Linked DNA regions of Homo sapiens: region 1 is linked to region 2. The links are contacts of gene promoters, found by promoter capture Hi-C in human tissues and cell types (Jung and others, 2019). All regions are on one chromosome and are shown on one strand. The core of a region is centred on a gene start or on the middle of the fragment in contact, and the rest is flanking DNA. Distances in the headings are between cores, read along the strand shown. Region 1 overlaps LOC124904663 (a long non-coding RNA gene). Region 2 holds the start of ZNF626 (zinc finger protein 626).

Region 1 (3,853 bases), core at 810-3,309, 250 kb before region 2:
ATTCAAGAACAATGAGATGCTCCATGAAGATAAAAATATAAGTTTCTCCTTTCATGTCCTCTGGTGCCCTTTCTGCCACAGACACCAGCAATTTCTGCTACAGTAATGGAAATATGTGCCACACTGACCTGCCCCTACCAAAACCAAACAGAACAGGTCCTGTGCGCACCACTTAGTGCAAAGGTGGAACTTCTTAACTCTCATGAAAGTATTTTGAGACCCTCATACCTGATTCTGGCCTCCCCTTAGAGTCACGTGAAGCCCTTCATTAAAACAACATGGATACTTCCACCCAGAACAATAAACAGAACCGGTGGGGAAGGCACAAGAGATTTCTGCAAATTGGCCATGTGATCCTAATGAGAAGCCTGGGCTGATAACCACTAAGCTAAGCATTGCCTCTCAAGCTTTAAGAAGCTTATAAATCACTTGGTAATTTTGACTCCACTTTATGTGATTCTGTAGGTTTGAAAAGGGTCCATAAATGGGTGTTTTAAACAAGTCCCCTGTCAATGCTGATGTTGCTTCTCCTTGGCTCATTATTAGCATTAGAGAAAGCAGGAATAGCAGAGGGTCCCTTACACTTAGAACTCTTGTCACAACCAAATACTTCTGGTACAAATAAGGACAACACATCTATGCTAAAGTTTTATATTCTTTGCTGGGTCTTTAAAGTTTACAGAGGAAACAGAAGGCAGCAATGTCTGGATAAGTCTGCATTTAAAAAACATGTACACATGTACAAATGCAATGTTTATTAAGCAGGTACTTTGTGCTCAAGAGTATGATACAGAGCACTATGCTGGGCATAACATATTATGTGATTTAATTCTTGTAACATTCTTGGAGCTAGTACTCAGGGTTTAATAATTTCCAGGATTTAGATAAAGGGCAGAGAATTTTTACTGCCTCTTCTGTTTCTCTGTTACCAAATTTTTTTAAACATTGTAAAGAATAAAAGCTAAATATATACAGATGAAAGAGATATAGAAGAGTTTATTGTAGTTTAGAGAAAATTTTATTCTGTTTATGTTTACTTTTCTGTGACTTGTGGAGCAACTACTGGATCTGCAGGAATAGAAAACAAGTTGCTAAATAGAATGTCTCTGCCAACACTGGTTTTAACAGAAAATTTAAAAACTAAGACTCTACAATACATACTTTATTTTTCCCATTTATCTGCTTTTGGGTTTCAGGAAATTGGATTCACCAGCCAAAACTCTGATATCTTCTAATCAGTTCTGTGAGGCAAGACTCCAGAGTAGGGTCAGACCTAAATAAGGCCTCCAAAAAGGGTGAATCTGAACATGTCTGGGACAAGGTGAGGATCCTATAGAATTCTGTTCTCTATGCCACTGTGGTACTAACAGTTTTCTTTTTTTCTAATCTTACCTAAAAGAAAAACCCCAGAGTTTCTGTAATTTTAATATTTTCTAGCACTGCTCTGTCAACTTTATACTGTATACTAATATGCAATTTAAACAATTCTCTTAAGGTTTTCTAGGGTAATTTTATAAGAAAATCAGTGTGTACACTTACGAAGGTAAAAGAACAGAAATTATACGGCTGGGCACAGTGGCTTACACCTATAATACCAACACTTTGGGAGGCTGAGGTAGATGGATCATGAAGTCAGGAGTTCATGACCAGCCTGACTAAGATGGTGAAACCTCTTCTCTACTAAAAATACAAAAATTAGTTGGCTGTGGTGGGAGGCACTGTAATCATAGCTATTTGAGAGGCTGAGGCAGGAGAATCGCTTAGACCCAGGTGACAGAGGTTGCAGTGAGCCAAGATCATGACACAGCATTCCAGGCTGGGTGACAGACTAAGACTCCATCTCAAAAAAAGAAAAATTAATTATAACAATTCTACTGTTCATTAATATCCCTTCAGGTGGTAGGTACCATGACTGCTTCATGTATTTTTTTTTAATGACCATAAGAAATGGAAGCAACTAGTTTATCTACTTGGGTCTCCAGATCTCCTTGTTTATCATCCAAGTACCAGGAAACTGGAGAAACTCTCATCCCTGTACAAACCAAAGACAACTCTTGTATGATGGGTTGAACAAACACAGAATGACTCATTTTTCTTTACACTGAGACAGAAGCAGAATTAACCACTCTTGTCAGCCTGACACAATTCTACTCTGGACATCCTCAAATGCCTCAAAGAAACCTAGGTGATTGTGAGGGAATTCCCAGTGACCCAGGGCTGATGGCCCAATGATAAGCCAGGCTGGAGCGACTCAGGCTGATTCTAAATAGAAAATAAAACTGCGTTGGTGGAGCCCCAGAACCTGGGTCACCTGTCCTGATATGCTAGCACTTGGGTAAAAGACAGAACAAAAATACTCTACTCCAGTATCCCATTTTACAGGTAAACATAGTTGTGGTCATGGCTCTGGATACTTTGTGGCCTGATCTCTCACTCCTAAGATGATTATTTACACTTACAGATTCTGCCATCAGATTCTATTTCCTCCTGGAGCCTCTCACATCACTGTAGCAGGTCAATGAAAAAGATGTAAAAAAACTCAAAATGCCACACTCTGAAATGGGGGCTGTAAGATGTCTATCTTGACAACTTACAATGCAGAAAATAACTTTTGTTAATTTTCTGTACATTCCATATCCAAAGTCTGGCACTTTTTAAATCCCAGGCAGAGGCCGGACCTAATCTGTAGATTCTAGATAGGATCAACCTGGCTCTGCATCCTTTGGTGTTACAGCAAATGGAGTACAATCAAAGGAGAGTACCCTCATAGAGGCTGCTCTAGAACATTCTAAGTGATAAGTCTAAATAAAAAAAGCTGACATATCAAGAATATAAGTAGACAGTTTATTTGGTTTAAGCTTAAGGATTATAACCAGGGAGCAAAGATTCAAGTTGCCTGAAATCTACACTTTGATTAGCAGCAGTTACAAGATTTGTAAAGACAAGAGAGGGACATAGAGTGGTCTGATACAAAGTTGTTTGTCAGAAGTTTTTATTTATTTAGATAAATAATATTGATTATTGATTAGATATATATCATTATTGTTTAGGGTATAGAATATAGTATCCAATGTGGCATTGTTAATTTACTTTATAGCTACTTGTGGCAATAGTGAACAGTTTCAAGGGATGAATACATAGTTCAAAGGGGAGAGAAAGATGTTAACTGCTCTTTCATTTTAACATCTCTCTGAGTTTGATAACCAAAAGTGCTTGCACTTTTTAGATAAAAGTTTTTTATTTCCCAAATCTCAAGATCTGGATTCAAAATATGGAGCTACAGATTTAGGTCCTGAATGGCAGGAGTAGCAGCAGGTGTTACTTGCACATTAGTGAGCATTTCAGCAAGAGTAGAAAGGGGATAGTGGAGACTTTCTTGTCTACATGTCTACTCAATTCACATGTTACTCCAGTTCAGTTTGTTGGCCCCACGGTCTCTGAATCTGTTTAAGGTCTGAAAATACAAGAGTCATTGAAAGAGAAAAAATTATTGATTGCTTCCCTGTGAAATTTGTAGAAATCTGATCTAGTCTCTCTAGCAGTGACTGTAAAGGACTCTAGATACCAAATAGGCAGGGACACAATTCTGCCTTCATATTTAGGGGACAGCATGCACTTTGCTGCACAAGTGTGAGTTGACTGGAAGCCTGAGAGGAATAGTCCCCTCTAGAGTAAGTTCCGGTTGGCACCTTATTTGTGTTTATATCATGTCTGGTAATTCTAGACAGTGTTTGGAAACAATAATTAAAAGACAGATTTTATCCAGCTCCAGAGAAACTCCACAATAATAGAACAGAAAGAAAATGGTTTTATTACACAATTGAACTTGAATGTGACATGCATCATGGTCAGT
Region 2 (4,002 bases), core at 1,282-3,781:
AAATCCTGGAAAATATTTGTGATTAATAAAATTCTCCACCTTTTGTGTGCTCCAGGAACAGTATACGGAAAGAAACGCCTTTCTCATTATGACTTAGATGGTGCTCTCTTTTCTTACCTATCACACAGCCAGACACACACTCTGTACATTTTCTCCTTTTTCTCATTAAGAAATTCAGCTGAATTTGTCTTCAGTGGTCAAAATAATTTTTTTTTTTTGAGATGGAGTCTCGCTCGGCCACCCAGGCTGGAGTGCCTTGGCACCGTCTCAGCTCACTGCAACCTCTGTCTCCATGGTTCAAGCAATTCTCCTGCCTCAGCCTCCCAAGTAGCTGGCATTACAGGTGGCCACCACAACTACCAGCTAATTTTTGTATTTTTAGTAGACACAGGGTTATCACCATGTTGACCAGGCTGGTCTCAAGCTCCTGACTTGCGGTGATCCGTCCGCCTAGGCCTCCCAAACTGCTGGGATTACATGCCTGAGCCATGGCGCTCAGCCTAAAATATTTCTTAATCAAACTTTACTTAAGTTTATCTCCATCCCTCAGGCTAGTGAGGGATGGAGATAAGCCATCTCCAATGTAGGAGAAAAGCCCTTTTCTGCCTACATTTTTGCAACCCATGAAGATTTTTTAGTTAGCTGGTACTTCTTCCTGTTGCAATACTTCTTAGGAATTCATTTTTTTTTTACATAAATCTAATATTCTTATTTTAGAAAGCGTAAAAAGTGCCTCAAAACCATAACAACTTCATTACCAGTAAGACCCTCCCAGTTTCCTTTCATCTTAATCTTGACTGCATCTGCCTGTGGGGCCCCAGCTTTCCAAGGCTTTGTAGCTTCTTTCAGAATGAAGGCTCCTTCCGTGGCTGGGGTGAGCAGTCTTGAGATATCCGCAAGGGAGACTCCCCAGAAAAAAATAACAGGGCCTTTAATAACCTCCTGTTGGCCGGGTGCGGTGGCTCACACCGATAATGCCAGCACTTTGGGAGGCCGAAGCGGGTCTGAGGCAGAGAGTTCAAGACCAGCCTGACAAACATGGAGAAAACCCGTCTCTACTAAACACCAAAATTAGCCGGGCGTGATGGTGCATGCCTGTAATCCCAGCTACTGGTGGGGCTGAGGTAGGAGAATCGCTTGAACCCAGTAAGCCGAGATCACGCCATTACATTCCAGCCTGGGCACCACAAGCGACACTGTGTCTAAAAAAAAAAAAAAAAAAAAAAAAATACCCTGTTGCAGGCTTAATATTAGCCTTAGCTTGGAGTCACTAGGTTCAAGCTTTAATGTCCACATCAGTTATTCACTTGGTTTTTGAAACTAAGTGTTAGAAACTCCAGTGAAATTACTCACAATGTTTACATAAAGGAATTTTTAAGATGCTTACTTTTTTTTTCTTTTTTTTGAGCCGGAGTCTCGCTTTGTCACGCAGGCTGGAGCGCGATGATTGGATCTCAGCTCACTGCAACTTCCGCCTCCCGGGTTCAAGCAATTCTCGTGCCTCAGCCTCCCAAGTGGCTGGTACTACAGGCACGTGCCAACACGCCGATAGTTTTCGTATTTTTAGTAGAGACGGGTTTCACCACGTTGGCCAGGCTGGTCTAGAACTCCTGACCACGTGATCCACCTGCCTCGGCCTCCGAAGTGCTGGGATTACAGGCTTGAGCCACCGCGCCCAGCAAGAAAGGGGTTTTGAACCCTAATGCAGTTCCTGTTTTTGTTTCCATCCCCTATTGGCTGGGATCAGACCGCACAATCTAAGCTGATCCTGGTAAGCTTAGACCCAAACTTTTTCCAAATAAAGTAAATGCGCGATTTGCGAGAAAAGGAAAAGGGGGTAGAAGAAGAGGTAGGGTTGATTTACAACTTTTACAACTTATGACCAGAAAGTTGAGTCATTTAAAAGGAACTTAGTTGTCCTAACACCTCTTTACCTCAAGTGATCCGCCCGCCTCGGCCTCCCAAAACGTTGGGATTACAGGCGTGAGCCACAGCGTCCGGCCCCATACATTTTTAATAGGAGAAAAGAGAAACTGTAAACCCAAAGGAACAAAGCTCTTCCCATTCATGAACCCGCACCCCGAGTCAGGATTCTCCCCTGCCCACCCTCCCCTGGTCCCTGCACAATCTGGGAGAGACGCCACGCTGCGGGTGCAGAGCTGCCCAGAGAGGGCTCCAGGCCAGGGTAGTCACCGCGCAGTGAAGAGACAAGACGCCCGGGTGCCGGCTGTCAGCGCAGCTGCCATTTTATGGCTGAACAGGACTGAGGCCGAGCTGAGCAAGGAGAACTGGGGGAGCAGACTGTGGAGCTGACTGCGGGGAGGCCTGAGTCCCGCCACAGCCACTTTTCACCGGTTCCAACCAGTCCCTCTCCTCTCTCGGGATGTCGGACCCTCACTCTCACCATTTTTGGCTTCCAGGAGGTCCCGGTGTCTTAGCTGTGGATCTCCCAATACCTGCAGGACACGGGGCCACACAGCCTGGGCCTTTAGGAGAAGAACCAGACCTGGAGCTCTGACTGCAGCGAGAGACAAAGGCCGCACCAAACCCGGAAACCGTCCTCTTCGCTCCAGCTGCGTTCCTGATTGGATGGTTTCCAGCCCACCATCCCTGATTGGATAATGCTTAAGGCCCCGCCCCCTGAGGCCCTGAGTGACAGTAGATGTGATCAGACGCTGAGCTGAGTGAAGAAAGAGTGACAGCCTAAGCTGCAGCCTTTTCAGGCAGGGCTTCCTTCCTGAGCTGAGCCAGGCCCACCCCAGAGCATGGGAGAATTCTATCTTTTCTTTACTCTCTCTCTTTTTGAATGTATTCAAAAGGTGAACAGAAGTATTTTGCTCTCATATTAATAATACATAAAATTTTTGTTCAAGAGAAAATCAACTTTTACTTTGGCAATAATGTATTATCAATACTAAAGGTAATTTTGATAAAACCTTATAAAAAATCAAATTTGTCATTTTTGACCTCTCGAGATTTACATACATATTTTGTAATCTAATGTAATTTTTTAACTTTTTATATTTTATTTTTATCTACATTCTTTTTATTTTTTCAATTTGAAACAACCTTTAAGTAATTTCAAACTGTTACAAGAGACAAAGAAATCATTTAGGGCCAGTCCGCTGGTGCACGCTTGTAATCCAAGCACTTTGGGAGGCCAAAGTGGGTGGATCACTTCAGGTCAGGAGTTCAAGACCAGCCTGGCCAACATGTTGAATCTCATCTCTAGTAAAAACACAAAAAATTAGCCAGGTGTGGTGGTACACACCTGTAGTCCCAGGTGCTACGGCGGCTGAAGCAGGGGAATCGCTTGAACCCAGGAGGCGGAGGTTGTGTAACGGCCTAAGGGCTTCATCTTGCCTAGACAGAGATGATTCATCAAGACAGGGGAATTTGTGGAGGAAAAGTTAAATATTAAATTTGAACTCAGTTGAACATGGACACAAACAATGGTCACCAAGTCCTGGAACAGGTTATGTGAGCCCCTTGAGGCATTCACCTGCCGACCTTCCCCTGGTCCCTGCACAATCTGGGAGAGACGCCATGCTGCAGGTGCAGAGCTGCCCAAAGTGGGCTCCAGGCCAGGGCACAGTCACAGCGCAGTGAAGAGGCAGGACTTCTGGGGGCCTGGCTGTCAGCGCAGCTGCCATCTTCTGGCTGAATGGGACTGAGGCCAAGCTGGGCAAAGAGAACTGGGCACAGATTGTTTTGGAGAAATCTCTATTTTAATCTATTCCTATACGTTAGTTATTGAAAAACAATAGCCAATCGCAAAAAAAACAAGTTGACTTTTTTGTGTTCCTTGAGCCCAGTTGCAAAGAGCCCAGTTGCAACTGGGCCTCATGCCAAACAACTTGTTACAAAAAGAGCTAGGATCCCAGACTGCACCAAAGCTCCAAAGACCTCTCCTTGTCTGTACAGGGATGGGTGGCCGACTCTGGAGCCCAGGCTGTTGCTTCCTGGTCTGCTGATGAATCCTCCATAGTCTGGTGAGTGTAA

The links. The method cuts DNA at HindIII sites, captures the fragments that hold promoters and counts their contacts. A contact is called where the count stands out against the background at its distance.
Region 1: a contact is called between a fragment that was not itself captured here and the fragment with the promoter of ZNF626 in region 2, in 1 of the 25 tissues and cell types used here (hippocampus).

Annotation. Positions count from the first base shown.
Region 1 is chr19:20,412,198-20,416,050 of GRCh38, forward strand. It overlaps LOC124904663 (a long non-coding RNA gene), which reads right to left. Exons shown (of 2, transcript XR_007067167.1): 2 at 2,824-3,454. It also overlaps the pseudogene ZNF826P. Among named protein-coding and RNA genes, the nearest start is that of MIR1270, 15 kb to the left of the region's middle. The HindIII fragment of the contact is 3,294 bases long and covers 413-3,706 here.
Region 2 is chr19:20,659,040-20,663,041 of GRCh38, forward strand. ZNF626 (zinc finger protein 626) reads right to left here and starts at 2,532. Exons shown (of 4, transcript NM_001076675.3): 1 at 2,405-2,532. The coding sequence starts at 2,407. RefSeq lists a silencer at 2,657-2,726. The HindIII fragment of the contact is 1,409 bases long and covers 1,529-2,937 here.